4 separate regions of the Homo sapiens genome follow, and all the other regions are linked to region 1. The links are contacts of gene promoters, found by promoter capture Hi-C in blood cells and fetal thymus (Javierre and others, 2016). All regions are on one chromosome and are shown on one strand. Each heading gives the region's core, a stretch centred on a gene start or on the middle of the fragment in contact. The rest is flanking DNA. Distances are from core to core; before and after follow the strand shown. Region 1 holds the start of AKAP6 (A-kinase anchoring protein 6). Region 2 overlaps GPR33 (G protein-coupled receptor 33). Region 3 overlaps LOC105370438 (a long non-coding RNA gene). Region 4 overlaps NUBPL (NUBP iron-sulfur cluster assembly factor, mitochondrial).

Region 1 (7,845 bases), core at 1,346-3,845:
ACTTAAAGTAATATAAAATAAAAAAAGAAAGTCTGCAATAAAGGAACATGTTTTTAACACTGTCACTTTATCATAAATAATGATATATAATATAATCTTGTTAGAAAATTTATATTTTATTAAATTATAATTTTATCTATAAATGGATAATTTGTTCAGAATAAACTACCCCAAAATCTTGGTGGTGTTTGTTTCTCACTCATTGCAGCCCAGTGTAGGTCAATAGGTAGTTGGGAGAGGATGGTTGAGCTCCATGCAGTCATTCAGGGACCCAGGCTCCATCCACAATGTGTGGCCATTATCTTTCTGGGCTTCAGAGTTCCACTGGATTCTTTGCATCCAGCTAGCAGGACAGGAAAACATGAAGAAGAGACACTTGGTCTTAGCCACCTTTGGAGTTGATGGTTTCCACTTCTACTTCCGTTTCATTGGTGAGTGCCATTTTGTGGGCAAGCAATTTAGCTAGTCCAGGTTGCTAAAAGTTTGACCTGGCCTCAGGTTTGATGAGCCATCCATTTCTTCCCATCAAATGATTGACTTGCTTCTGGCAAAAAAGATTAACAAGATTCTTACCATCTTGAGAAGCCATATTCAAATCTGGAACACCTGCTCCCACCCTGTCCTCTCCTCTTTATAGCATGTGGATTTCAGCTCTGGAAAGACTAATCTTGTTCTGTAATAGGTCCATGTCTCTTTATCTTCTCCAGAGACTGAAGGGTTCTTCAGAGGTATCTTAAAGAGTCAGCTTACAGCAAATGAGGTTGGAGGCAGTGGTTGAGAATGGCTCATCAGTCTGGGCTCTGGGCTTCTTATCTTGCCTCAACCAAGGCAGTCCAGCTTTGATCTGTATCATTAAAAGAAAGGTTATATTACTAATGAAAAACCTGAAAACTATGGTTATTAGCTAAATCAATCATCTCTGCAGATGAAAAACTTGAGGCCCCAAGAAGTTAATCAATTGGCCTGATATCACACAGATGCTCTAGGAGGACCTGACATTTACAGTTGGGTTTCCTGACTCTCAGATCTGTACTCTTTGTACTGGGGTAGCTGCCTGCTACTTCTCCCCTTGTGTGTGGCATGTGGTCTGAGGTCTAAGATAAAGGGAGGGAGTCAGGCTCTGCTGATGCCACAAAGGACCTAAGCAGGCAGATTCACCTCCTGCTTTTGGTCTCTTAATTCCTCTCTAGATGAAGCAAGAACAAGTCTGTCTTCCCATCTAGGGCAGGGTTGCTCTGTGCGAGGCTGATGGTGCACGCTGCTGGGATATTGGCACTTCTCAGGCATTTTATTAGCTCCTGTTTACAGAGACACTGCCTGAATTCCTTCTGCCACTCATCCCACACCGCCTATGCTGGTGGTTAACAGTGCCATTTTAAAATCTCAAGCAGGAGGAGACAACATAATTGTCTCATGTTTTAAGCTTTTGGAATGTTGTTCTTTTTCAGAGTTGTGAAGACGGAGTGGATACAGGTCAACTTGATTCTGCTTTTCTCTATCAATGGCCTGCAAATATTAAATATGCAAAACATAGGCTGCTCTGTCCATATCTCCTTCTCCCCAGTTCTCACCACATGACGTTGATTTCTGCTCAGGACTGGAAAGAAGTGATTGCTTTAGATTTGCTTTTCTTTTACCAACTGGAGAAATGCCTTACCGTGTCTTGTTTAAATGTGGCTTTTCACACAGTTCCAGCTTTTGGGGTTGGGGAGGGGCACAAATAATCTGTGTGGTAGGCAGTTTTATTGTTCAGAAAAGAAGAAAACAGACCCCAATGTTTGGAATGCCAACGATTTAGGAAGTTTCTAGCAGGTCTGCTACTTGTTCCAACCACTAGGTTTGATCCCAGAAAAGACTCACATGCGTTTTGGCCATGAGAAGGAGGGGTTCCCTGCAGGCCAAAGGAAGGGTCAGTAGAAGTTGAGGGTGGTGTGTTGTGCCCCTCTAGATTCCAAACTTCCCTTTGCTGCCTATCTGATGACCAGGTGAAAGCTGGGTTTATTCTGCATGGGAAGGTTCTGTGGGTTGGTGTTCATCAGGGAAAATAACCAGGACAGACTTCATTGGCCAAGGGTTTGCCCATGTTTTGAGAATTAAAACTTGTTTACTTGAGAGTTAGAGTCATTTGGTCAGCTGTTTATATTCCATTTTTAATTATTTTTGTGCTCGCTGTTTTGTTCTTTTGGTCTTTGACAGATGAGCAAAAATTCTTTTTAATAACTTTTAAAAAGCTATCCCAGTGCTGACCAGGGAGGAAAAAGTGATCAAATTGTCTAATAAGGAAACATTGTACATTTCAGTTTTTATTTGCTTAGTACTAATTCTATTTTCTCCTCCCACCTTTTTTTTCTAAATGTATAACAACAAAGGGGGAGATAATTTTTGTTTTTTCCAAAATGCTTTCAGGGAAATCCCTTTTAAACCTATGGATTTTAGTCCAATGAGGAATCCTCTTCCTTTGGTCTAAATTTTGCATATCGTCTGTTTCTTACAGGGCTTCCGTATTGTCTCAGGCTCCACTGGAAATGCAGCAAGGATTCCTAGCACATCCCAGTTGCCATAGCAACAGCAGTCTTTCCCATAATGAGCTGCATCATCTGAACTGATGTCACAGCATCATGCAGCAGGTCAAACAAGGCATCTCCTAGTATTGCATCCTACAGATGTGCTGTAAACATCAAAAGAAGACGGTGGGATCAGGAGATGGTGAGTGTTAAATGTCTGGGCCTTAATTGCACGGCTGTTTTGTTGGTTAGTCGGTGTCTGCTAAGGCGGAGATTGGGGGATGTTGTCTCTGCTTAAAATGGACTGGGGAAAGAAGGGCTGTTTTACCTAAATCGTTTTTCAGGCTGCCGGGTTAAGACAAAGGCCTGTAAGAGTCATATAGGAATTAAAATATGTAGAATTATTCTTGCTCCAGCTCTGTCTGTTATTTTTAAGTGTTCTTACAGAATTTTTCATAAACATAAGATGATTTTTCAATTGCAAAACCCCAGATAAGCTTTAAAATGAGTAGTTAACAGTATTTAAGCATTGTAAAAATATAGATTTCTTTTTGGGAGGCAGAGCTAATTGGCCCCCTCTTTGCTCTTGTGAATTATGAAATATTCAGTGATTTGCAGTATGAAATTCATTATTTACCTCGGTTGGGTTTCAGTTTCTTCATGGCAAGGAACAAATGCTGAATAAGCATTTGACATAACCCTGATGTGAAAGGGGATCTCTTGCATATTCAAGACAGAATTTATTAAAAGCATAAAAACCTAAACCAAATGAAATTATTTGAGCCTTTTGATCTATATGGTAGTTCTTCAACCCATGTCCTTCAGAGTTAGTTGAAAGACTGCCACATATTTTTCCATCTCTAGCTAGTCTCTGAAATAGCTGGAGTTGTTTGCAGGCTGACTTGTAACTGAGAAAGGAACAAGTCTCCTCTCTGCGGCAGTTGCAGTGAAGGGTAACCCTGGGAGAGCCTCTGAAGTGGCAGTGGTGTTGCCATCCCTTGCTTAACTTTAACAAAAATCTGGGTATGATGAATAAATATCAGGGTCCTCAGTGGTTGTAGGGATTACAGACCTCTGGACTCAGTCATAACCTCAACTCAATTCCAAAACTCTAAACACGTATCATTTTCATTTCAACTCCTAGCTCTGTTTTTAGGCATCTTTATTATTATTATTATTTTCTAAAAAATTAGTCTGACAGTGTCAGATAAGGAGCAGAATGTTGCCTTTTGTTTTGGGAAATGAAATGGATTTCCCTGGTACAGCTGATTGCTACTAGGGGAGAGAAAGGAGGAGGCACATGTCAGTTCAATTGATCAATATGTCCACTTAGAATCAGGGAGTGGTCTTGTGGCTTAATGCTGCCAAATTGATAGTTTTTACTCAAAAAGTCTTACACGAAAGAATGGCAACCATTGAATTCCTCTTCTTTTAGTCTGTTTATTGGGGCTAAAGAGATATATCATGGAAAGCAGGAAAAGCAATACCTTTAGCTAGCTTGGAGTGATTTTTTTTTTTTTTTTTTTTTTTTTTTTTTGCACAGAGTTAAGTATGCTAGTCCCATTAGGCACCAGCCAGAGGAAAGGCCTCAGGTTTTAATTTGTTTGTTTATACCACATCACGCACATGCTTGCTACTCTCAGTCCTTTAAGCTTATGTTTCTGACATGCAGCTGTATAGGATGGGAGAGGTCAGCTCAGCCTGGCTTTATCGCAAGCACTTAGAAGCATGAATTGTTCATTGCCTGCTTTTTTATGTCATATAATGTGAGCAGAAAGCTCTGCTGGGACTGCTGGGTGTGAACACATCTAAGTCGAAAGCTCTAAGGTGACAGGGAAGAGTGCTAGATGGTGATGGGGGAAGGGAAAGTATGTCTTGTAGCTAGATTATAAATCTGGATAAAATCACTTAGTGCCTTTTAGAATTTTCTTAAAGTATTATTTCTGAAGAAGAGCAATGAAGAAAGACTTGTTTGGTAACATGAATTTCTAGGAGTAAAAAAAAGCAAAAGGCAGCATTGTAATGAGTTTTCTGTTTGCTTAATTCTTGTCTCTTTTGTTTAAAGTGCTCTTCAGCTGCTTCATCATGGTTGATTTGTTCAATTACTGGAAGTCACAAAAGCTAGATTCCTTAAGGGCAGTGTTAGAAAAAGTGGAGTCATGCTTTGAGGGTGGGGAAGGGCGCTGGTGGGTGTGGACTGACGCAGTTATCTAGTGGAACATCCTCCCGGTTCAGACAACCCTGTAATTTTTCCCCCCGCAAATGTTCAAAATGCAATTACAGTTCTCCAACTTTATGCTTTTGTGCTCTTTTTGCTCCAGGAGAACAAAGCCCTGGTAATGAGAGCTATCATCCTAATGTTTTGTTTCTTCGTTTCTTTGTAGAGGGCCACAGCCTGCGCTGCTCTCTGATTAGCTGCATGTCTTAATTACTGGCTAAGGCTATTTCAGTTGTCTTAGTTTTAATATATCCCCAAGGGGTAGATGGTGTGTGTGTGTGTATAGGGGAAGGGAGAGATTTCTCTATGGCTGTATTTATTGGTGCCTCACTGAAACTTTCTACAGTTTAAGGAATTTTGTTTCACAGTAATGATAGATCATCAAGACCATGTTTATTGGACAGAGTTTAGGCCATGGAAGCCTCACAAGAAGTTAATGTCCTCTATACTTTTGGTCATGGCTTTCACAAATACATTACAAAGTTACAAAGAAGTTAATTCTTTGCCGATAACTAGGCCGCATAGGGATGATAAAAATAATAATCATAATAACAATCATAGCTATCATTTATTCAGTTCTTACTGTGTATCAGTACTGAATTAAGTTTTGTGTATATCTTATTTAGCCCTTATTATTATTATGAAGTAGAGAGTAATAATCTCACTTTATAGGATTAGGTGTTATTATTCACATTTTGCAAAAACCAGTCCTTAGCCAGGCGAATAAACTTGGCTAAGGTTATGTAGTTAATAAGTGATTGGGCCAGGATTCCAAACCATTGCGATCTGGCTATGCAGCACACATGCTTACCCACGGCCATCTCAGTTTTATGACATCTTTACTGTATATACCATACAGATCAGTCATCTATACTCTATCACACGTACCCCACCCCTCCTCATTCTAATTGGAAAATCAGATTTCATATGTAGAATGAAATGTCATTTGCAACACTAAGGTTGATTTCACTGTAAGGATGAGCATGAATCTTGATCAGATGTGAATATTTACTTTGTACCCAGAGATTTAAGTAATGAAGAGTTGATGCTTAGACTTTTGCCACTGCCCTTGCTTGATATAACTTTCTAGCAGGATCTCTGTATGGAAAATGTTACATCAATAATTGTGGGCATGATGGAGTTGCACTCAAAGCAGGTCTTACCTGAGTCAGTAATGATTCAGCTTTGTTATAAACCTGTCTTATCAGCTATATTTGTGGTGCTTTGTTAACTTTAAGATGTTTGTATTCCCTGCTGTTGCACCAGGTTCTGTTCTCAACCTGGTGTTGAGAACAGAAGCAGAAACTTCTCTCACAGTCTGGAAAGTGTAATCTGAATCTATCTCTTAGGTTAAGAAGATAGAGGATTTATTTTGCTGAATGTATCAGTGGCTGAAACCAAACTCTGTCTATCTCTGACAAAGTACAAGAATGACAGTCTTGTGTAATAACCTGGAAGCCTTGTGTTTGAGGAGAGCTGATATAGTCATTTCTGTATCATCTTGCTCATCCCCAGCTATCCACGCCCAGCGTCATTATTGGGCTCTAAGGGCTGTTCTTTGTTTGAGTGTGGGGCTAATGCACACACTGACAGCATGTTGATATTGATTCCTGTATGGTGAATACTTAGAAATATTATTCCACAGGGCTCATTAGCCTTTTCTAGGTTCCAGGAAGAAGTTAACCTTTGTCCTAACCTGCTCCAAAGAGGCCCAAGCTTGTGTCTGCATGAGGTACAGGAATGAGAGGCTGATCAGAAAGCATCAAAGCTGCTAGGTACAATGACTACAGGAGTTAGGTTCCAATTAGGAAATAAAATAGCCAGTGGAATTTAGGGAAGTTGGTGGTCTTGCTACATGTCTCTGATTTTCTTCTATTTATAATCCTAGAACCCATGAATGGCAGTTTGTTTTGATCGCATGGATTCAATTCAATTCAATAAATATTTATTGAATATCTCCTATATGCCAGGCATTGTCAGGGAATCTATAGCAATGAGCAAGACAGATGCAAATCTCTTCCCCAGCTACATTCTAGAGGGGAAGGGAAAAATGGGTAAATTGGTAAAATAATTTATTTCCTCTAATACTGCAATACTATTTCTATTTACTTTTTATTCCATGTGTTATTAGAGAAGCCCATTATCTGTGCACATTTGTATAGGTACATATAGCTATATGGTTTATATGTGGAGGTAAACTTACTGCATTAAATAATAACTTTTTTTTTTCTTGCATGGGTTTGGATTAGAATCTTTCTGGATGTGGACAAGACCAATATGGCAATTAGTATTTTTTTGGTATAAACTATTTTGAGAAATAAAATTATAATCAGTCAAATAGTGCATGTCTATCTCAGTTGACAAACTTGACATATGGAAATATGAAATGTGTGTGGCAGATCAGTTAAGGAGAGATATTTTTGTTTTTATAAAAGATATTCATCACCTTTAAAAATTGTCCAGAGAGCCCTCTAAATTGAGCATTCCAGCCAGCCTGCTGATGGAGGTATGTATCATACAAGGTACCAACTACACACTTAGTTGTACAAGGACAGGTATACCAGTTACCTTCAGTCTCATCTAATCGCCCTAGTGTGCCTTACAGTATTGCTTTAAATGGGAAGCATTTCTCGAAACAATCATATTGACTGAACTCTGTAGATGGGCCCTGAGTGTGGTTTTTCAGAGGAATAGCAATCCATATAGGACTTTGGCCATGGCAACAGAGTTTTAGGTACAGTAGCCCCTTCCGCGCCCTTATTTGTGATTTAGCCTTTTGTGGTTATGGTTATCCGTGGTCTGAAAACATTCAATGGAAGATTGCAGAAATAAACAATAAGTTTTAAATTATGCGCTGTTCTGCATAGTGCAGTGAAATCTCTCACCATTACTGTTCTGTCCTGCCTGGGATGTGTATCATTCCTTTGTCCAGCATATCCATGCTGTATATGCTACCAGCTTGTTAAGTCACTTAATAGCCGTCTTGGTTTTCAGATCAACTATCTCGCTATCATAATGCCCATGTTCAAATAACCTTTATTTTACTTAATAATGACTCCAAAGCTCAAGATTAGTGATGCTGGCATATTGTTACAATTGTTCTGTTTTATTATTAGTTATTGT
Region 2 (7,845 bases), core at 2,970-5,469, 850 kb before region 1:
GCTAACTGCCATTAGGCTTTCTTCCCTTAGGACTAAACAGAAACTAGTCCTTTCAAAAGACTCCACCCTTGATTTCAACCAAAGGCCTGAACACTGCCTCTCTTGCAGTTTCAACAAAACAACCAACCAGCATTTCTTCCTTATGAGAGATCACCGACCATGGAGTGGTTTGGCCAGTCTATGGAGAATGCACAGTGAGGGCTTTTGTGTCCTCTGCTTCACTTTTTGACATCAGGAGGCCTAAAACTCCACTTTCAGATAACGCTAATGCCGCCATTTTTGGAACATGGGTCCCATAAAGAAGCATGAAGCTCAATTACACATGCACATATTTATCCTCTCATAAATATTCAGGACTCCTTCTATAGCTTATTGAATACTGTATATTTAGCTACCCTTTTCAGCATAAATTCCTGTCTTATTCTTCTAACCTTTAAAGTGCCTGTTTCTGGCTTCTGGCTGGAGGTTATGCTTCAAAGCCTGTCACAATGATCACCCTGCAGGCTGCAATTTTTTATGAGAAATAAAGTTCTTCTTTCCAAATTTATGAGCCTTGTCATTCTTCAGTTGACAGGCACCTGAAACTTAGTATGTCTGTATTAGTCTGTTTTCACACTGCTATAAAAACATACCTGAGACTGGGTAATTTATAATGGAAAGAGATTTAATTAGCTCACTGTTGGAAGGCGAGACAGGCACTTTCTTCACAAGGCAGCAGGAGAGAGAAAAGCATGCAAGAGCAAGGAAAACTGCCTTATAAAACCATCAGACTTTGTGAGAACTCACTATCGTGAGACGAGCATGGGGGAAACCACCCCCATAATCGAATCATTTCCCTTCCTCAACACATGGGGATTACAATTCGAGATGAGATTTGGATGGGGACACAGAGCCAAACCATATCAATGTCCAAGACTGAACTTCTTTACCTGCTCCTTCCTTCCTCTTTTTCTTTCTTTCTTTCTTTTTCTTGCTTTCTTTCTTGCTTTTGTTCTTTCTTTCCTTTCTTCTTTCCTTTCCTTTTTTCTTTCCCTCCCTCCCTTCCTTTCTTCCTTCCTTCCTCCTTCCTTCCTTTCTCTTTCTTTCTTTCCTTTCTTCTTTCTTTTCCTTTTTTCTTTCCCTCCCTCCCTCCCTTCCTTCCTTCCTTCCTCTTTCTTCTTTCCTTCTTCCTTCCTTCTTCCTTATTTCTGTAAATGGAAACCACGAGCTGTCTCCGAATACAGAAATGTATGCATTTGTCATATTCTATCCATCATCTTTTGAATGGCTTTTATATTTGGGGAAATTCCTACATTTTGAGTAACCCCTTCTCACTCATGTAGAAATCAGAACTTAAATTCCCCAGCCTCATTTGCAGCTAGGATACAGGCATGCTGACTAGATATCCTTGTGCAAGACTAAATTTGGAAGTGAGCAATGTGAATAAGCAAGCTCTGCATGAGATTTCTGTCCTGTTGTCAGAGCTTTCAGGCACAGAGTGGTTCAAGACCTAATGCAGAAATGGTATCAGCGGCAGTAGCAGTTTTAGTAAAGCCAAATTGCTGATATTTTGGGCTCAACAGCAGCAGCAGCAACATTTGGTATCATTTACTGAAATACGGAACACCAGTGACAAATTCCTGATTTGGGTAGTTTTGTGGCATGTTTTGGGCATGGTTTCTGAGAGCTGCTCCTTGAATGTTTCTCCAACTATCCTAATAATTCTGTGAGTTACTTAATGTCTTTTAATAAATCAGTTTTTGCTTAAATCAGCCAGAATGAAATCTACTGTTTGCAACAAAGAACACTAATTGACAGAGGAATTGTCCTCAACTTCCCCTTCAACCAACAGAATTTACAGAACTCGACTTTTCTTGATCCTTACTTACACTTTTTTAGTAGGCCACATCATCTGTTACTTAGATTACTTTGGCACTGTCCTATTTGGCCACCCACCTCTAGTTTTGACCTCTCTACTGTAGTAGACAGAGCAATCTATCTTTCTAAAATGCAAATCTCAACCTATCACTCTTAGGTTTAAGGTCTTTCAGTGGCTTCCAAATGCCCTCAAGATAAAGTCTAGGATCAAGTCCAAATTCCTTCTTATAGGCTCTCAGGATCTAGTCCTGGTTGACTTTTCCAGCTCATGTTTCCAGCCTGCTTCTCACACTTAATGTTGCAATTATGTTTTTTGGCTTGTGCTGGACCAGCAGCAACAGGATCCCTTGGGATCCTGTTAGAAATGCAGAATCTGGGCCGGGTGCAGTGGCTCACGCCTGTAATCTCAGCACTTTGGGAGGCCGAGGCGGGCAGATCAGGAGGTCAGGAAATCGAGATCATCCTGGGTGAAAGCCCGTCTCTACTAAAAATACAAAAAATTAGCTGGGCGTGGTGGCGGGTGCCTGTAGTCCCACCTACTCGGGAGGCTGAGGCAGGAGAATGGCGTGAGCCCAGGAGGCGGAGCTTGCAGTGAGCCGAGATCACGCCACTGCACTCCAGTCTGGGTAACATAGCAAGACTCGGTCTCAGAAAAAGAAAAAAAAAAGACATGCAGAATCTGGCCTGGAGTGGTGGCTCACGCCTGTAATCCCAGCACTTTGGGAGGCTGAGGCAGGTGGGTCATGAGGTCTGGAATTCAAGACCAGCCTGGCCAAGATGGTGAAACCCCGTCTCTACTAAAAATACAAAAATTAGCCGGGTGTGGTGGCAGGCACCTGTAATCCCAGCTACCTGGGAGGCTGAGGCAGAAAATTGCTTGAACCTGGGAGGCGGAGCTTGCAGTGAGCCTAGATCACACCACTGCCCTCCAGCCTGGGCGACAGAGCAAGACTCTGTCTCAAAAAAAAAAAAAAGAGAAATGCAGAATCTGACTTACTGAAGTTAGATTTACTCCAGGTTTACTGAATCAAATCAACATTTAACAAGATTATTAGGTGATTCATTTGCATATTGAGGTTTGGGTAGTGCTGCTTTATAGCAATGTCTTCTCTTTCCCTCCAGGGCTCTTACACATTCTGCTTCCTCTCTTTGAAGGAACTATCCTCCTCTTCTTTATATGCCTAACACTGTTCTGCAGGACTCAGGCCCTTATCCAGGAAAACTTTTTTGACTGGTGAAGGCAGGAATTACCATTTTACTCCTTTTTCTTTCCTACTAAACTGGAGTTTTCTAACCTAATTGTACTTTAGACTTAATCTGAGAATAAAAAATATACTGGCCGGGTACGGTGGATCACACCGTAGTCCCAGCATTTTGGGAGGCCAATGTGGGTGGATTGCTTGAGGTCAGGAGTTCGAGACCAGCCTGGCCAACATGACAAAAGCCTGTCTCTACTAAAAATACAAAAATTAGCTGGGCGTGGCAGCACACGCCTGTAATCCCAGCTACTATGGAGGCTGAGGCACGAGAATTGCTTGAACCCAGGAGGCAGAGGTTGCAGTGAGCCAAGATCATGTCAATGCACCTCAGCCTGGGTGACAGTGAGACTGTTTCAAGAAACAAACAAACAAACAAACAAAGATACTGGTTCCTGCGTCCTGCTTCTAGAGATTTTAGTTTTAATTGGTTTGGATAAGGCCTTGAAACTGACATTTTAAAAAAGTATCCCAGATGATTACAATGTGGAGCCAAATTCAGAACCACTGCACTAGACTTCAAGCTTCTTTAGGACAGGGATTGTGTCAGATTCACTCTTGTTTCCCCAGTGCCTATCACAGTGCCAGGTACATATACTATACTGGTAAATGATTGTTTCCCCTAATTTCTCAGGGATATGGAATCAGATTTGTGTTGTACACAGCATTCTATCTTATACCCTAACCCCTCTCACACACGTTAGCATCTGAGCATCCTTCTCATCAAAACAAAGAGCTACTTCTTGAGGAAAGAACTTACACTGGCATTTAAAATGCATCTCTAATCATCCTTGTATTTTGTTCTTAAACCAGTTTGATACTGATATAGTGAAGCTGCTTTATATAATCGAGTGCTGACAGGCACATTGTTTTGAAACAGTGTCTCTTTGTACCAGTTCCACAGAGCAAAACCACCAACTCTTTGTTTATAAACCTTTTGAGTCCTGAGAATTCAAAATAGTGAGGAGGTTGATGAGATCAACGCAATTATAATGAGTAGATTTTTAAAAAATTAACCAGTTTTCTGTGAGGTTAAAAATGCATTTGGGAATAATTTTCTTAATTATACCCTATTTTCTTACATTTAAATTGACTTTAAAAAAACTCTTAATATCTTATATTTATACAGTGCTTTACATGTTGTAATTGTGCAAACTCAACTTTTATTAAATATCTTTTATTATCAATTGTGTATAATATTATAGAAATGAAATGCTATAGTTGATAGAATTCTTTCTGTCCCTGAGTTGTTTACAATTTATAGAAAGATGGAACAAAATACTTCAAAAAGCCCTGACCTAGGTCTCATGAAAAAGACAATTTAAAGCGTACATAGATAGCTGTAAGGAATGACAACATATGGCTTACAAATACCACAAAATCCACGCTTTCCAGGGCATGTTCCTTGTTTATTATTGTAGCAGGCCTGAGGAGGTAGACAAAAGGCACTCTCTGTAGCTGCTAGATTTCCAAAATCCAAATCTTGTTTCAAAGAATCCTATGTTGCATTCAATAATTTTCTTTCTTAAATCCTGCATCATAAAACTAAAACTTCAGTGGGCTTGTCAGGACCTGGGATAGTGTGGGGTGGAAAAAAGCACCATCCATTTCTCATTGCAGCTGTAGTCGGAGCCACAGCCTGGTCATCAATTCATATCTCCCTTTCCGAAAAAGAAAAAAAAAACTGTTCAAGCTTCAAAACCTTGAAATAGGGTCAGCAATTAAAGTTTTCATCTACCCAAAGCTTTTGTCATTCCAAGTAAGAGAGACCAAGCCCCCAATTGCCCAGGGGAGCCCTGATACCACGTCAATTAGCAGGATTTCTAGGACACCAAACTACTGTTACTTTCTCTATAAAAAGTTAGTCATGAAGATTAATTTTCTTCTTTCTGTATCTCCTTGTAATTCATATCATACGTTTTGGGGATTTCTGCGTAGGCTATATGCTTGCGGTTTGGAATGCTTTGTACAAAGCATGCTGGTGTATTCAGGGACTGAGTGTGGGATGTGACCCAAATATCTCCATGTTGTATCAGTTGAACTAACTAGATAGTTCAGTTGATTTAGAATTGACAGGACTACCTATTGATTGACATGTATTGATTGATTGATAGAATTAACTAAATACAAAGACAATAGGTGAGTGATATTATGTGGTTCTACATAACTTAGGTGCAGTCACTTAGTACACAAAGCTTGAAACATAACCTGAAAATCAGAGAACACAAATTAATATTGTTATTGCATTTATAAAATTAAGTCTATGACAACAGGCAGATTCTTGAACATTATTTTAGCCCCAAATTTTGGAGATAGCTTACTCTATAAATATTAGAAAAAGACAGTTAAGATGCCTTAATAATTAAAACACTAAAGTAGAAGTGTCTTTATGCTTTAACATGGATGTAACAAGATGAGTGCCTTGTGGCCGGGCGCGGTGGCTCATGCCTGTAATTCCAGTACTTTGGGAGGCCAAGGTGGGCGGATCACGAGGTCAGAAGATCAAGACCATCCTGGCTAACATGGTGAAACCCCGTCTCTACTAAAAATACAAAAAAATTAGCCAGGTATGGTGATGGGCGCCTGTAGTCCCAGCTACTCGAGAGGCTGAGGCAGGAGAATGGCGTGAACCCGGGAGACGGAGCTTGCAGTGAGCCGAGATCATGCCACTGCACTCCAGCCTGGGCAACAGAGCGAGACTCCGTCTCAAAAAAAAAAAAAAAAAAAAAAGAGATAAGTGCCTTGTCACTTCCATGTTAAGTTTTATTCATACCAGTTAAATAATTTAGATGTTACTAAATAATGAGGGAGCTCTGTCCAAATGTCTGTCAGAAGATTCTGTGACAGAAAATTCAAATCCTTGGATACTATTGATCAATTTGGCAACTGATATTCCTAGCTTCAAAAATCAAAAGTTTTAGCTGGACATGGTGGTGTGTGCCTGTAGTCCCAGGTACTCCAGAGGCTGAGGCAAGAAGATTGATTCAACCTACCAGAATGACTACACTATAATTAAAAAAAGGAAAATAACAAGTGTTGGCACAGATGTGGGGAAACTAAAACGTTTATACATTGCTGGTGGGAATGTAACATGGTGCAAATTGAAAAGCTTTATGATTTCTCAAAAAGTTAAACATAAAATTACCATTTGAACCGGTAATTCCACTCTTAGGTATATACCTACAATAATTGAAAACAAGGACTGACACAAATACTTATATACAAATGTTAATAGTAGCTTTATTCACAATAATAGTAGCTTTATTGACAATAGTCAAAAGGTGGAAACAACACAACAGATGGCTGGATTTAAAAATTATGTTATATACATACAATAAAATATAATTCAGCTGTAAAAAGAGAATGAAGTTCTGATACTGCAACAACACAGATGAACCTTGAAAACATTTTGCTGAGTGAAGTAAGTCAGACACAAAAGGGTAAATACTGTATAATTTCACATATATGAAACATCTAGAATAGGCAAATTCATAGAGACAGAAAGTAGACTGGAGATTATTAGGGACCAGGGGGAGGAGGAATAGGGAGTTACTACTTAATGGGCACAGAGTTTGTCCTTGGAATGATGAAAAATTTTGGAAATAGATGGTGGTGATGGTTGTACAATTTCGTGAATATAATTAATGCCACTGAAATGTTCACTAAAAATGGTGAAAATGGTAAATCTTATGTTACACATATTTTTCCACAATAAAAAATGAGTCGAAATAATCATAGGTCCAGCACAGTGGCTCATGCCTATAACCCCAACACTTTGGGAGGTTGAGGCAGGCGGATCACTTGGCACCAGGAGTTTGGGACCAGACGGGCCAATATGGGCAAAATCCCATCTCTACTAAAAATATAATTAGCTGGGCATGGCTGGGTGTGGTGGCTCACGCCTGTAATCCCAGCAGTTTTGGAGGCCGAGGTGGGCAGATCACGAGGTCAGGAGATCGAGACCATCCTGGCTAACATGGTGAAACCTTGTCTCTACTTAAAATACAAAAAATTAGCCAGGCGTGGTGGCAGGTGCCTGTAGTCTCAGCTACTCAGGTGCCCGAGGCAGGAGAATGGCTTGAATCCGGAAGGTGGAGCTTGCAGTAAGCCGAGATCGCACCACTGCACTCTAGCCTGGGTGACAGAGCGAAACTCCTTCTCATAAAAAAAATAAAATAAAAAATAAAAAAATTAGCTGGGCATGGTGGTGTACACCTGTAGTCCCAGCTACTTGGGAGGCTGAGGCATAAGAATCACTTGAACCTGGGAGGTGGAGTTTGCAGTGAACCTAGATTGCACACTGAACTCCAGCCTGGACGACAGAGTGAGACTCTGCCTCAAAGAAAAGAAAAGAAAAGAAAAGAATCACATTTGCAGCATGATCTTGCAAATTGCTTGTTTTCTTGCAGCCCTTTTATTGCTCAGAAATCTAACTATAGTACAGCCTAGTTATCTCTCTAATATAGGGACTATAGCATACAAAAGCAGAAGGTATATCCTATTGGTATAATTGACCAAGTGCGTGTTTGCTTAAGAATCTAGAATTTAAATTTAGGCTTCTGAGTTTAGGTTTGTGTCCTTTCTACAGAAGAATCTTCACTAAATGTTGACTCAAACAGAGCAAGAATGGACTTCTTGAAGACCTTTTTGAAATTCTCCCCAACAAATAAGTAGAGTGTGGGAGAAAAGATAGTATTGAAAGAAGTGGTTAGCACTGTAAGTATCAAAGTCA
Region 3 (7,845 bases), core at 2,355-4,854, 800 kb before region 1:
ATAACTCATTTAAGCAAACGTGAGCATTTATTATTATGACTGCAGCAGTGATTCTTGGGGTCCCAAGAGTAGGTTGCAGTGGGGTTGGATGAACAGAATGGACTGAGACTGCAGTCCTTCCTTTCTAACTCTTGTCTTTGCTCTTCTTTAAATGTTTACTTTATTTCTTACTGCAGATCAACTTTTTCTTACTTCTGGTCTATGTGGCAGAAAATGACAGCCAGACTGAGCCTGGACTTGATCAGTCCCCATTCTAAATTCCTCAGGGGAAGGCGTCATTTGACGAGCTTGGGTCAGGTGTCACCCCTGGATCAATCGCCAATGGCAATCAATGGCAATCACAGTTACCTTGAAGGAAAAAACAACTGAAACGTTGTTATTGAAAGGGAGAAGGAGCAGTTCTCAGGAAATGCATTGCTAGGCAGACAAATCAGTAGGCATTTCTTGGAGAGGCTGAGCATTTGAGTTGACTGGAGTATGTGATTGAATTAGAGGGAAAAATAAATAAGGTTGCAGGGATGATAGTTTGGAACTAAATTTTCAAGAATCTTTATGTAAAGCTAAGAATGTGAAGTTCATAGATATTTGGAAGTTACTGCAGTTTTTAAAGAGAGTAACATGATGAAGCACTATTTAGGATAATCTGGAGGCAAAGTAAATAGATTAGAATTGAGAGACACTGGAGCAGAGCCCATCTAGGAAGAAATTACAAGAGTCAGATATAAGAGCACTGGAAAAACGAGTAAAAATATTAGGAAGGACAGGATTACTTGGACATAGGTAGGTTTTTTGTCTTGTTTTTTGTTTTGTTTTTGTTTTTTTTGAGACAGGGTCTTGACCTGTTGTCCATGCTGAAATGCAGTGGTATGATCATGGCTTGCTGCAACCTTAAAATCCTGGGCTCAAGTGATCCTCTTGCCTCAGCCTCCCCAGTAGGTGGGATTACAGGCACACACCACCACACCCGGCTAATTGTAAAAGTTTTCCTTTGTAGAGACAGGGTCTTGCTCTGTTGACCAGTCTGGCTTCAAACTCCTGGCCTCAAGTGATTCTTCTGCCTTGGCCTCCCGAAGTGCTCGAGTGGTGGGATTACAGGTGTGAACCACCACACCTGGCTGACTTCTGTTTTTTAATCTATGTGAAATTTTTGTGACTATCATACTGCTATGGGATACAACACAAAACAGACCATATGTTTCACAGTTCATAAGGCTGAAACCATGTAGTTCAAACAATGCTATCATGGTTGTTAGAATTTCTAATTTTCTTTCCTCTGGGAAATAACAGCCAGGGTTTTTTTTTTTTCCCTGTCTCCCACCATCCCCACCCCACCGTATCATATATTGGGAAGATATTATTAGAAATAGGAATGAAGCCACAAAATTCTGGGGACTGGTTAGGCAGAGGGCAGGGAGAATGACGAAACCATGACCGATTGTTTTCAATTCAAGAGTGGAGTTCCTGTAACAAGGATAAAGCTAATATCATTAACTGTGAGTATTGGTGAGTCATTTTTAAGGAAGATCTGTCAAGTTTTTATAGCAATTTCTGTGTAAAGTTTATTTTAACATTTATCACATTGCATTTTACTTATCTCTCCATGTGGCCACTCAGCATTGGGCTGTCAGCTTCTCTAGGGCAGACATTCTTGCTTATTAATTTTTATATCCATGGTGCTTGGCACAATGCTTGACTTGTTATAAGTGCCCAACAAATGCTGAATATCCCCCATTTGATTATAGGCTTTTGAAGGTAGGGTCTATGCTTCTCCATATAACTTCCAAAGCATGTTGAACAAAAATGCTTTGAATTGAACAAAAATTACTAATATATGAGTTCCCAACCTTTCCCCTGTCTTGATTCTTTTGGATTTTTATGCTAAGAATCAAGAGCAAAAAGAGTGTAAGAGAAAAACAAGAAGGCTACGTTTGGGTGAAGAGTTTTCTGGGGGCTTGTATAGAAGAAGTGAGGGACTACCGGGGATGTGTGAGGACAGTGGATGGGACAGCATAGAAAGGGATTTTAAGAAGTGTTGATGTGAACTGTGTGCTTTCTTCTTGGTGTTCGGACAACACAAGTAAAGGACTTGCTTTATTTTTGAACTCCTGTTTGTTCTTGGACTGTGTGCCTTTGATGATGCCATTCTGGGATAGAACTATAAGGGTCACAGGTACATGAGCTTTATATTTATTTAGTAAATATCTGTGAAAGGAAGGAGAAGAAAAGAGAGCTAAAGAGAGAAGACAATGAGGGCTGGATGAAGGAAGAAAGAAATGAAGGGAGTACATTAATGTCAGATATCATAGAGGAGATATGTGAATCTAAACCATATACTTCCATTTCCATTTAGAAACCAATATGGTTCATCTGAATTATTATTAATTTTCTCTGAAATTGGTGAGATTTCCAATTAGATATAAGGAGCTGGGTGAGTTTCAAGTGAGAATAAAAAGCACTGGGACAAGCTCATTTTGCATTAAGAAATTCAGCTGATCTTTTATTACAAATAAAATGAACACTGAATAGTAATTTTCATTAAAGAATGAAAGCATTTAACTACTTACAAATACTTCAATTATTAGTTTTCAAAATGTATTTTATAGTAGAGATCAATACTTTTTGTCCAAGGAAATTACCCGCTTAAAATCTAGTATTTTTATATAGAAACATCATTCCTGGGATAAATTAAAAACTATTTTTTTCTAAATAATATACATGGATGTTGAGACTAATGTGGTATGCTATATTGGAAATATCTTCACAAACTTTAAAATAGAACATAAAAAATATTCAAAGGGCAAACGAAATAAAATAAATTTCAGGAATGAATCTGTTTTTAAGGTCATGTATAACTACTATTATTACATAATATAATTCTGAATAAATAAATCGTGTGTGCATGAACAAGCTAGAAGCTTATTTTAAGGGTTTCTTGAGGCTTTCTCACATTTAAAAAAGTCAGGCTATTGATTATAGAATCATAGCATTTTAGAACAGAAAAGGGCCTTGGAGATGGCCTTGTTCAACCCTTTCATTTTACAGGTGACTAAAGTATGTTATTTGGGTAGCAGCAAACTAAAAAGTCTTCAACGATGGTTCTCTATTGCGGTAACAACCACTCTGGCCTAACTATTCCTTCACCAGATCACTGCAACTCAACTGCAGGAACACAGAAAGAACAAAAGCGACAACATCAAGCCTCCGGGTTTGCTGGAATTCATTAATGACATCCCTTCCTGCTGAGCTAACAAAACCTTGAACCAGCAAGCAGTTGTCTTCTTAAATTGAGCTTGCCAACTGTGTTATAATGGTGGATTTAGAGACACTAGGTGACTCCACTTGAGCAGTTGTGGTGGCCAGAGAAGAATTATTCTTATCCTCATGAAACGTAGCCCAAACAATCATTACCAGTTGGTTCTAGGGAACTGCTTTTAGTGAGACTATTGTTGTCAGTATTGTTGAGTTGGGGTAAAAAGAAATAAGGTTACAGGGATGATAGTTTGAGGCCAAATTTTCAAGAATCTTATGTGATGTTAAAGATTTTGAAGATTGTCCTAAAGACATTTGGGAGTTACTGCAGTTTTTTTAAAAGGGAGTGATATGATAAAACACTATTTAGGGTAATTCAACTGGAGATGAAGTAGACAGATTAGAATTGGGATACTCTGGGAGGATAGAAGGTACAACAGAACAAGCAGGTGTGCCCCACTGAATCATCTATACATTTAGAAAGGTAAGACATATGTTTATCTCATAAAACAAATGAGTGGGCCGGGTGCAGTGGCTCACACCTGTAATCCCAGCACTTTGGGAGGCAGAGGTGGGTGGATCACTGGAGGTTGGGAGTTCGAGACCACCCTGGTCAACATGGTGAAACCCCGTCTCTACTAAAAATACAAAAATTAGCTGGGCATGGTGGCAGACTCCTGTAATCCCAGCTACTCAGTAGGCTGAGGCAGGAGAATCGCTTGAACCCGGGAGACTGGGGTTGCAGTGAGCGGAAATCATGCCACTGCACTCCAGCCTGGGCGCCAGAATGAGACACTGTCTCAAAAAGCAAGCAAACAAAAACCAAATGAGTGAAGATAGTTCTATGAGCAAAGCAGCTTTTAAATACCTGCTAAAGTGTGATTTCCCTTGTGAATTTTCTTATGTCCCTGTATTAGTCAGTCCTCGCATTGCTATAAAGAAATGCCAGAGACTGGGTAATTTATAAGAAAAGACATTTAATTGGCTCATGGTTCTGCAGGCTGTAGAGGAAGCATAGTGGCATCTGCTTCTGGGGAGGCCTCAGGAAGCTTCTAATCACAGTAGAAGGCAAAGTGGAGCAGGTATGTCACATGGTGAAAGCAGGAACAAGGGAACAAGGTGGGAGATGCTACACACATTTAAACAACCACATCTCATGAGAACTCACTATCATGAGGACAGTATCAAGGAGGATGGTGCTAAACCATTCATGAGAAATCTGCTCCTATGATCCAATCACCCCCCACCAGGCCCCACTTTCAACACTGGAGATTACATTTCAATATGAAATTTGGATGGGCACACAAAAATAAGCTATATCAGCCCTCTTCCCGACTCCACCACTGTAATTAATCAAGCAATATTGCAATGATTAATTTACATGTCTCTCTAGTTTACCAGTAATAAGCTCTTTGAAGGTAGGCATAGTCTTATTCCTCTTTGTATATCTACCACCCCATAAATATTACATAGATTGTTTTGAATTGAATATATTGTTATTGTTTGGTCTTGTAGGTCCTCATCATCAATCTCTAAATGAAGTTACTTGAAGCAATTCTTGAAACCATAATAATAATGTCTCCAGAATTGGTGGATTCTTGGTCTCACTGACTTCAAGAATGAAGCCACGGACCCTCGCGGTGAGTGTTACAGTTCTTAAAAGCGGCGTGTCCGGAGTTTGTTCCTTCTGATGTTCGGACATGTTCAGAGTTTCTTCCTTCTGGTGGGTTCGCGGTCTCACTGGCTTCCGGAGTGAAGCTGCAGACCTTCTCCCTGAGTGTTACAACTCTTAAGGCGGTGGCACATCTGAAGTTGTTCATTCCTCCTGGGGGTTCGTGGTCTCGCTGGCCTCAGGAGTGAAGCTGCAGACCTTCACCATGAGTGTTACAACTCATAAAGGCGGGGAGGACCCAAAGAGTGAAGAGCAGCAAGATTTATTGCAAAGAGGGAAAGAACAAAGCTCCCACACTGTGAAAGAGGACCCGAATACATTCCCATTGCTGGCTCCAGCAGCCTGCTTTCATTCCCTTATCTGGCCCCACCCACATCCTGCTGAATGGTCCATTTTACAGAGAGCTGATTGTCTGTTTTACAGAGAGCTGATTGGTCTGTTTTGACAGGGTGCTGATTGGTGCATTTACAATCCCTGAGCTAGACACAAAAGTTCTCCAAGTCCCCACTAGATTAGCTAGACACAGAGCACTGATTGGTGCATTCACAAACCCTGAGCTAGACACAGGGTGCTGATTGGTGCATTTACAAACCTTGGGCTAGACACAGAGTACTGATTGGTGCGTTTACAATCCCTGAGGTAAACAGAAATGTTCGCCAAGTCCCCACCAGATTAGCCAGATACAGAGTGCTGATTGGTGCATTCACAAACCTTGAGCTAGACACAGAGTGCTGATTGGTGTATTTACAATCCCTTAGCTAGACATAAAGGTTCTCCAAGTCCCCACTACACTCAGGAGCCCAGCTGGCTTCACCTAGTGGATCCTGCCCTGGGGCCACAGGCGGAGCTGCCGGCCAGTATCGGCATGCACCCGCACTCCTCAGCCCTTGGGGGTTTGATGGGACGGGGCGCTGCAGTGCAGATGGTGGCGCCCATTGGGGAGGCTTGGGCCGCACAGGAGCCCATGGCGGGGAGCCGGGGGGAAGGCTCAGGCATGGCAGGCTGCAGGTCCCAAGCCCTGCCCCACAGGGAGGCAGCAAAGGTCCAGCGAGAATTCGAGTGCACCACGGGCGGGCCGGCACTGCTGGGGGACCCGGCGCACCCTCCAAGCTGCTGGCCCAGTTACTGAGCCCTTACTGCCGGAGGCTGGCGGCGCCGGCCGGCTGCTCCGAGTGCGGGGCCGCCGAGCCCACGCCCACCCGGAGCTCGCGCTGGCCCGCAAGCACCGCGTGCAGCCCCGGTTCCCGCCTGCGCCTCTCCCACCAAACCTCCACGCAAGCTGAGGGAGCCGGCTCAGGCTTTGGCCAGCACAGAAAGGGGCTCCCACAGTGCAGTGGCGGGCTGAAGGGCTCCTGAAGCGTGACCAGAGTGGGCGCTGACGCCGAGGAGGCGCCTAGAGCGAGCGAGGGCTGCCAGTACACTGTCACCTCTAAATAAGATAAACATTTGAAGAGTGCCTTTAATGTTCAAGGAATTGTGAAAGACACAAAGTTGAACATGACATGGTATCTGCTTTGGAGAGGCTCATAGCTAAAGAAGTGTATTGGTTTGCTAGGGCTGCTGTAACAAAATACCACAGACTGGGTGGCTTAAATGACCACACAGAAATTTATTTCCTCACAGTTCTGGAGGCTGGAAGTCCAAGACCAAGGTGCTAGCTGGATTGGTTTCTTCTAAGGGCTCTCTTCCTGGCTTGCAGGTGGCCACCTTCTCACTGTGTCCTCCTGTGGCCTTTCCTCCGTGCATATGCCTCCCCGTTATCTCCTTGTATGTCCAGATTTCCTCTTCTTATAAGAAGCAGTAAGATTGAATTAGGGCCCACCCTAAAGGGCCCACCCTAGTGGCCTCATTTTAACTTAATCACTTCTTCAAAGGCTCTATCTCCAATTGCAGTCACATCCTGAGTTTCTGGGGGTTAGGGCTTCAACATACGAATTTGCCGGGGGGACACAATTGAGCTTATAAAAGGAAGGAGACTATAATAAACAGTTTAATACCAATCAGCTTTGATGGGAGGCATCTGGGAAATAAATAGTTCAGAACAGTAAACTTTGCAGCAGAAACTGGAGATGAAAGTTTGAGACTTTAATGGAATTTAATAATCAATGCATTCTCTTGAAGTCATTTTACAAAAATCAATATAAATTTTCAAATACCTTATTTGGAAAGCCACTGTGTAACTGGGCCAGATGGTCTGACATGAACTATACTCATTTATAGTCTTTTAAGGTAAAATGTCCTCCATGGGTATACAGTGTAGTAGTTTACTGGCACTGATTTTGGAATTACATTGTTCCGGTTTGAGCCATGGTTCTGACAGGTCCTGGTCTCTGTCGTTTATCCTCAGGCAAATGGCTTATTCTCACTAAGTTTCTTTCCTTGTCTGTAAAATAGGGGTAATTCTAGTTCCTATTTCATAGGGTGGTTATGAGGATTACATTAACATATAGGCTTTGTACATAGTAAATGGTCAATAAATTGTAGCTCTGTTCACAGGCTGTTAGTGGCTTGAATTCCTCAGACAGATTCTTTATTAAACATAATTATTCTTTCTGCTCACCCCTGAGGCTTAACCCAGTTTTTCATGCAGTATTATTTATTTATTTATTATTTATTTATTTATTATTTATTTCTGTTGCCCAGGCTGGAGTGCAGTGGGGCCACTGTACTCACTGCAGCCTTGAATTCCTGAACTAAAGGGACCCTGTCCCCTCAGCCTCCTGAAATGCTGGGATTACAGGCATGAGCCACTGTGCGTGGCCTCCAGTGCTATTTTATTAATCTTAAGAGATGTATCCGTGACAGTTCTAACTTGAGAACCTTAGATAGAGATAGTATAACATAAATTCAAAGCATTACTATAGATTATGGTAAATTTTAATGGTTCTCATGAAAACAATAAGGATTTCTTTATCAATCTGAGA
Region 4 (7,845 bases), core at 1,373-3,872, 670 kb before region 1:
GCCAGGTGTGGTGGTGGGTGCCTATAGTCCCAGCTACTCAGGAGGCTGAGGTAGGAGAATGGCATGAACCTGGGAGGCAGAGCTTACAGTGAGCTGAGATAGTGCCACTGCACTCCAGCCTGGGCAACAGAGCGAGACTCTGTCTCAAAAAAAAAAAAAAAGAAAAAAAGAAAAATCTGCAAAGGATCTGAATAGACATTTCTCAAAAGAAGACATGCAAATGACCCATAGGTGCATGAAAAAATGCTCAACATCACTAAGTGTCCATCAATGAATGAATGGATAAAGAAAATGTGGTTGAATGAATGGATAAAGAAAATGTGATATATATACAGAATATATCATATATATACTACTCAGCCTCATAAAAGAAAGAAATTCTGTCATTTGCAACTATATGAGTAAAGCTGGAAGACATTAAGCTTAATGAAATAGCCAGGCATAGAAAGACAAATATCATGTGATCTCACTTATGTGCGGAATCTAAAAAAAGTGGAACTCAGAGAATTAGAGAGTTGAATGGTGGTTACCAGGGGTTCCAAATGGGAGAATGGGGAGATATTGGCCAAAGGACACAAAGTTTCAGTTAGGTAGGAGAAATAAGTTGAGGAGAGCCATTGTACAGCGTGGGGACTGTAGTTAAAATACTAATGCATTGTGCACTTGAAAATTGCTAAGAGAGTACATTTTAAGTGTTCTCACCACAAAAAATTGACAAGCTTATATTAATAAGCTTGATTGAATCACTCCATAGTATATACATATATGAGAACATTGCTTTGTATACCATAAATATATATAAATTTTGTCAATTAAAAATGATTAAAAAATAAAGTTGCTTTTTCTTTAAATGATGGCATTTATATAAAGTAATAACATTTCTAATATGTGTGCCCTGATTTTAAAGACATCAATATATAAAAACCAAAATTTATAAAACCATCAAGTTTGTGAGTTGCGTTTTTAAATTATGGAGAGGTTTTCCTTTGTACCAAAGACCCTGTGACAAGGCCAAATCCTATAATTTCCTTCATAGCACTAGTTTTGGTTACAAATTTACATTTATCTAGTGATTGTGTATCGGGGGAACTCACCCCCCATATTTTAACATAGGTTCTTTCTATTTTCCCTACGTGTCAGCCGGTCTGAGAAATAAAGAGAAAGAGTAAAAAAAGAGGAATTTTACAGCTGGGCCTCTGGGGGTGACATCACGTATCAGTAGGACTGTGATGCCCACCTGAGCCGCAAAACCAGCAGGTTTTTATCAAGGACTTCAAAAGGGAAGGGGGTGTACGAACGGGAAGTGGGTCACAAAGATTACATACTTCAAAGGGCAAAAAGAGAACAAAGATCACATGCTTCTGAGGAAACAGGGCAAGGACAAAAGCAAAGATCACAAGGCAAAGGGCAAAATTAGAATTACTGATGAGGTTCTATGGTCAGCTGTGCACGTATTGTCTTGATAAACATCTTAAACAACAGAAAACAGGCTTTGAGAGCAGAGAACTGTTCTGACCTTAAATTCACCAGGGTGGGGTTTTTCCCCACTCTAGTGAGCCTGAGAGTACTGCAGGAGACCAGGGCGTACTTTGGTCCTTATCTCAACTGCATAAGACAGACACTCCCAGAGCAGCCGTTTATAGACCTCCCCCGAGGAATGCAATTCTTTTCCTAGGGTCTTAATATTATATTCCTTGCTAGGAAAAGAATTTAGCGATATCTCTCCTACTTGCAGGTCTGTTTATAGGCTGTCTGCAAGAAGAAAAATATGGCTGTATTCTGCCCGACCCCGCAGGCAGTCAGACCTTATGGTTGTCTTTCCTTGTTCCCTGAAAATCGCTGTTATTCTGTTCTTTTTCAAGATGCACTGATTTCGTATTGTTCAAACGCACATGTTTTACAGTCAATTTGTACAATAGTGGTCCTGAGGTGACGTACATCCTCAGCTTATGAAGATAACAGGATTAAGAGATTAAAGTAAGACAGGCATAAGAAATTATAAGAGCATTATTTGGGAACTGATAAATGTCCAGGAAATCTTCACAATTTATGTTCAGAGGCTGAAGTAAAGACAGGCATAAGATATTATAAGAGTATTATTAGGGAAGTGATAAATGTCCATGAAATCTTCACAATTTGTGTTCCTCTGCTGCGGCTCCAGCTGGTTCCTCTGTTCAGGGTCCCTGACTTCCCACAACAATTGTGTGGTTAGTATCTGTCTCTCCTATTGACTTTGTATTTCATGGGGGAAGATATTATGTCTGTTTTTCTTTGCTACTATAGCACTAACACCAAACTTCATACTTGGTACATACAGGTATATCTCAGAGATGTTGCAGGTCTTGTTCCAGACCACCACAATAAAGCAAGTGTCTCAATAAAGTAAGCAACATGAATTTTTTGGTTTCCCATTGCATATAAAAGTTATGTTTACACTATACTGTAGTCCATGAAGTGTGAAATAGCATTATGTCTAAAAATATGTATGTACCTTAATTAAAAATATTTTATTACTTAAAAATGCTAATGATCATTAGCCTTCAGTGAATGGTAATCTTTTTGCCTTTGGATGGTGTTGCCTGCATGTGAATTGCTGCTGACTGATCAGGGTGGTAGTTGCTGAATGTTGGGTTGGGTATGGCAATTAACTTTTTTTTTTCTTTTTTTTTTTTTTGAGACAGAGTCTCGCTCTGTTGCCCAGGCTGGAGTGCAGTGGCATGATCTCAGCTCACTGCAAGCTCCGCCTCCTGGGTTCATGCCATTCTCCTGCCTCAGCCTCCAGAGTAGCTGGGACTGCAGGCACCCGCCACCACACCTGGCTAATTTTTTCTATTTTTTAGTAGACATGGGGTTTCACAGTGTTAGCCAGGATGGTCTCAATCTCCTGACCTCATGATCTACCCACCTCGGCCTCCCAAAGTGCTGGGATTACAGGTGTGAGCCACTGTGCCTGCCCCGGCTATGGCAATTTCTTCAGACAAAAATGATGTTTGTCACATTGATTGACTCTTCTTTTCATGAATGATTTGTCTATAGCATGTAATGCTGTTTGATAGCAGTTACCCACAGTAGAACTTCTTTCAAAATTGGAGTCAATTCTCTCAAGCCCTGTCACTGCTTTATCAATTAAGTTTATATAACATTCTAAACTTTTTGTTGTCATTTCAACAAAGTTCACAGCATCTTCACAGAGTAGATTCCATCTCAAGAAAGTACTTTCTTTGCTTATCATAAAAAGCAACTCCTTATCTGTTTGTTTTACCATGAGATTGCAGCAATTAAGTCCCATCTTCAGGCTCCATTTCTAATTCTAGTCTCAGTGTCATCCATGAGGGTTGGAATCAACTTCTTCCTAACTCCTGTTCATTTTGATACTTTGATCCCCTCCAATGAATCATGAATGTTCTTAATGACATCTAGAATAATGAATCCTTTCCAGGAGATTTTCAATTGATAGATCCGTTAGAGGAATTACTATCTATGGCAGCTTTAGCCTTATGAAGTGTATTTCTGTAATAATAAGACTTGAAAGTCAAAATTACTTCTTGATCCACAGGCTGCAGAATGGATGTTTTGTTAGCAGGCATGAAGACAACATTCATCTGATTGCACATCTCCATCAGAGCTCTTGGGTGTCCAGGTGCATTGTCAATGAGCAGTAATATTTTGAAAGGAATTGGCCGGGCATGGTGGCTCACACCTGTAATCCTAGCACTTTGGGAGGCTGATGCGGGTGGATTGCCTGAGTTCAGGAGTTTGAGACCAGCCTGGGCAACATGGCAAAACCCCGTCTCTACTGAAAATACAAAAATTAGCAAGGCATGGCAGAGAGCATCTGTAGTCTCAGCTACTTTGGGTGCTGAGGCAGGAGGATCACTTGAACCCAGGAGGTTGAGGCTGCAGTGAGCCGAGATGGTACCACTGCACTCTAGCCTGGGTGACAAAAAGGTTTCAACAGTGGGCTTAAAATATTAGTAAGCCATGCTGTGCTGTCAGCCAGGCTTTATTTTTCCATTTATAGAGCACAGGCAGAGTAGATTTAGCATAATTTTTGAGAGCCCTTGTATTTTCAAAATGGTCAGTGAATATTGGATTCAACTTAAAGTTACCAGCTGCATTAGCCCCTATTAAGAGAGTAAACCTATTATTTGAAGCCAAGCATTAACTTTTTTCCCCTAGCTGTGAAAGTCCTGGTATCTTCTTCCATTTCATCTACATTGAAGATCTGTTGTTTAGCTACTTCCTTCCATTATCTTAGCTAGATCTTCTGGATAACTTGCTACACCTTCTACATCAGCACTTGCTTCTTCACCTTGTACTTTTATGTTATAGAGATGGCTTTTTTTTTCTTAAACCTCATGAACCAATATCTGCTACCTTCCAACTTTTCTTCTGTATCTTCCTCACCTCTCTCAGCTTTAATAGAATTGAAGAGAGTTAGGGCCATATTCTAGATTACATTCTGGGTTAAGAGAATGTTGTGGCTGGTTTGATCTTCTATCCAGACCAATAAAGCTTTCTCTGTCTCAGTGATAGGGCTGTTTTGCTTTCTTTTTATTTATGTGTTCATGGGAGTAGCACTTTTAGTTTCTTACAAGAACTTTTCCTTTGCATTCACAACTTGGCTGTTTGGTTCAAGAGGCCTAGCTCTTGGCCTATCTTGGTTTTTGACACAATTTCCTTACCAAGCATAATCATGTGTATCTTTTCATTTAAAGTGAGAAACATATAACTTTTTATTTCACTTAAACACTTAGAAGCCATGATAGCATTATTAATTGGCCTGATTTCAATATTGTTGTCTGAAGGAATAGGGAGGCCTGAGGAGAGAGAGAGAGAGATAGGGGGATGGGCTGGTCAGTCGAGCAGTCAGAACACACACACAACATATATTGAATAGGTTTGCATCTTATGTGGGTGCAGTTCATGGTGCCCCACAACAATTACAGTAGTAACATCAAATATCACCATGATAGACATACTAATAATAAAAAAGTGTGAAATATTGTCAGAATTGCCAAAATGTGACATATAGAAATGAAGTGAGCACATGCTATTGGAAAAATGGCACCAATAGACTTGCTCAATGTAGGGTTGCACAAACCTTTGATTTGTAAAAAATGCAGTAACTGCAAAGTACAATAAGGCAAAGCAAAATAAAACAAAAGTATGCCTGTAGAAGGCACTCAATAAATATGTTGAATGAGTGAGTGAGGAGAAAGAATTGTCTTATGTAGTAAGCCTTTAAAATCAAATTCCTTTTTAAAGAAATGTAATTTTTATGCAGTCTTTTTTAGCGGTACAGCTATTATATAAATTGATAATTGCCTAAATATTAAATGGCACAGAATGAAATCTTTAATGTAGTCACTGTTCTAGAAATACTTCAAATGTAGCCAGTAACCAAAATCACCAGACCCCCAACATCCAAAGTTTTATTACCTGTGTGGGCAGCCTCCAATTTAATGTGGTATGGCAGTCATTGATGACTGTGCTTTTTATTACTTCTTTACTATGATTTCTTATCTATATACTCTGATATATGGGCCATTCATATAAGCTTTCAAATCTCTAGTGTAACTAAATGGGTAATATAGTAAGGCTTTTATTATCTAAACAATGTTTATTGAAAAGAGTTTGCCTCTAAGTATTTGTAAGTATATTATCTTTCAAAACAAATTCGGTTTATATAAGTCTTATAGCCACAATGTTATAAAGGCCACACCGAAGCCAGTGTCTTGTCTTTGGCTGTACCTCTATTTATTTTCTATTTTTGTCCTTCATTGGGTCTTTTTATGCAGGCAGTCATAATTTGGTCTTTTTAAAATGTTTAATACAGGTTAAAGCCTTAAACAGGTTTTTTCTTGCTTCATAATATACACATGAACAGGCATTTTGGTCACTATAACAAGTGTAATTTTGTGTTTAGCCCTTGTTATAGATATCTTTTTCTTATCTCAGTATGTCATTCATATTTTTCTAACTTGCTGCTCAACACTCTTCTTTTTTACTACTCATGGGTATGTATTGCTAGTGAGTTTTAAATTCCAGCTCTTGAATTCCTTGTACTTGTAGCTTACTATTGCTACTTAAAAATGCTACTTCAAAAACTTGAGAATTTGCTACTTCAAAAACTTGAGAATTTTAGAAGTCAGAACTAATAGAAGAAAAAGAGTCTTATACATCATATGAATTTGATAAGGCTGGAAATGTCCCCTATAAACAGAAAGATTGAGAATAACAGAAATCTACCTAAAAGATATGTCAGAACAAACAAAAAAATTCAACTACTGTTTAAAAGATGATTCATATTAATTACAGAGTAACTTGATATATCAGAACACTGTTAAATCATTCCAGGGAAATTGTCTGGGCATCTTCAAGCAATAGAAAGAAACCTGTTTTCATATTAGCTAACCTTTCAACTGTGTGTTATCTATTAATCTCATGTATGTTGGAGTAACTGTAAACCTCCTGCTTCTTGGATATGTATGTGAAAAGAATATGGCACTTAATGAAGAAACAGGCCTTAACTGAAATACTTAATGTTTCTGTTGCTAGCTTTTTAACTTTGGGCAGGTTAGTTTAATATTCTGATCTTCGGCTATTCCATATGCAGTATGTCATATAAAGACTTCATTTGCCATATGAAGACAGTTTGCCCAAGGTCACAGATAGTGACTAATTTATGATAATAAATAATATTTCACTGCACTAAAAATGGCTGATGATCAAATATAGGTTATGGAAGTTTTCTTTAATAGCTTTTTTTTTTTTTGAAAGGGAGTCTCACTCTGTCACCCAGGCTGGAGTGCAGTGACGTGATTTCAGCTCACTGCAGCCTCCACCTTCTGGGTTCAAGTGATTCTCCCACCTCAGCCTCCTGAGTAGCTGGGACTTCAGGCACGCGCTACCATGCCGGCTAATCTTTGTATTTTTAGTAGGGACGGGGTTTCACCATGTTGGCCAGGATGGTCTTAAACTCCTGACCTCAAGTGATCCACCTGCCTCGGCCTCCCAAAGTGCTGGGATTACAGGTGTGCGCCACTGTGCCTCCTTTAATAGCTATTTACTGTGGACTCTTTAGCTGTTTACAGAATTGTTTTGGACATTATATGAACATGTTTATGAGCACTTACTTTACTAATCAAGGGGAATATAGTATTTAGATGGTGAGGCAGGATAAAGGCATAAAAAGATAAATAATCATAGAGGATAACATTTATTAAGTGTCAGATGCTAAAGGAGATTAGAAGAGGGAATAGTTATGGAGAGCTGTTTTGGAGGCTGCCATGGAAGAAAGGGATTACATAAGCTGAGAGAAGGCTGAGGATAACCTTGACTTTCCCCAACTGTAAAATGGAGATATTACTTGCCCCATAAGGCTGTTGTAAGGATTCAGTGAAATAAAATATCTAAAGTGTCTAAAATAAATGTAGTGCTTTGTGACTATGTGATGTAACTGCTACTACTGGTTTTTGTTTTTTGGACTGAATATAAGTGGTTCTTTCTGTCATCTTTAAAATTTTTCTCTCCCAGATGCCTGACAACTTGGAGATGACATATAGTTTTCATCTTAAATACCAACTGACTACCTGGGACATAATGTTGAAAAGATTCTCAGACTCTACCTGGTTTTAGTAGGGAAGAATGCTATGATCAATTACTGGTGACAAGGCACATATAAAATAGGCTGGAGGCAGGAAATGGTTGTGTATGGGTTGCTGGAGTAACAGTATGTAAACTGTGTTTATTATCTTTACTTTAAGTCCTAGTATGTCTTATTTGTTTCTAGCCTTCCTTTTACTACATCCTGTAAAACTTTCTAATATAAGATGGCAAGTT

What was found. The method cuts DNA at HindIII sites, captures the fragments that hold promoters and counts their contacts. A CHiCAGO score of 5 or more calls a contact.
Region 2: a fragment that was not itself captured here is called in contact with the fragment with the promoter of AKAP6 in region 1 in 1 of 17 cell types (endothelial precursors); the score reaches 6.3 in endothelial precursors.
Region 3: a contact is called between a fragment that was not itself captured here and the fragment with the promoter of AKAP6 in region 1, in 1 of 17 cell types (endothelial precursors). The highest score is 5.1, in endothelial precursors.
Region 4: a contact is called between a fragment that was not itself captured here and the fragment with the promoter of AKAP6 in region 1, in 1 of 17 cell types (naive CD4 T cells). The highest score is 5.2, in naive CD4 T cells.

What each region holds. Positions count from the first base shown.
Region 1 is chr14:32,326,703-32,334,547 of GRCh38, forward strand. AKAP6 (A-kinase anchoring protein 6) reads left to right here and starts at 2,596. Exons shown (of 14, transcript NM_004274.5): 1 at 2,596-2,706. RefSeq lists an enhancer at 4,561-4,855. The HindIII fragment of the contact is 1,578 bases long and covers 1,422-2,999 here.
Region 2 is chr14:31,475,286-31,483,130 of GRCh38, forward strand. GPR33 (G protein-coupled receptor 33) reads right to left here. Exons shown (of 2, transcript NM_001197184.3): 2 at 7,590-7,845. The coding sequence ends at 7,679. Among named protein-coding and RNA genes, the nearest start is that of GPR33, 8.8 kb to the right of the region's middle. The HindIII fragment of the contact is 1,169 bases long and covers 3,636-4,804 here.
Region 3 is chr14:31,521,288-31,529,132 of GRCh38, forward strand. It overlaps LOC105370438 (a long non-coding RNA gene), which reads left to right. Exons shown (of 4, transcript XR_943723.3): 2 at 4,765-4,889. Among named protein-coding and RNA genes, the nearest start is that of NUBPL-DT, 36 kb to the right of the region's middle. The HindIII fragment of the contact is 1,383 bases long and covers 2,914-4,296 here.
Region 4 is chr14:31,651,753-31,659,597 of GRCh38, forward strand. The region is part of intron 4 of NUBPL (NUBP iron-sulfur cluster assembly factor, mitochondrial); the gene reads left to right. Among named protein-coding and RNA genes, the nearest start is that of NUBPL, 94 kb to the left of the region's middle. RefSeq lists a silencer at 1,458-1,658. The HindIII fragment of the contact is 3,782 bases long and covers 732-4,513 here.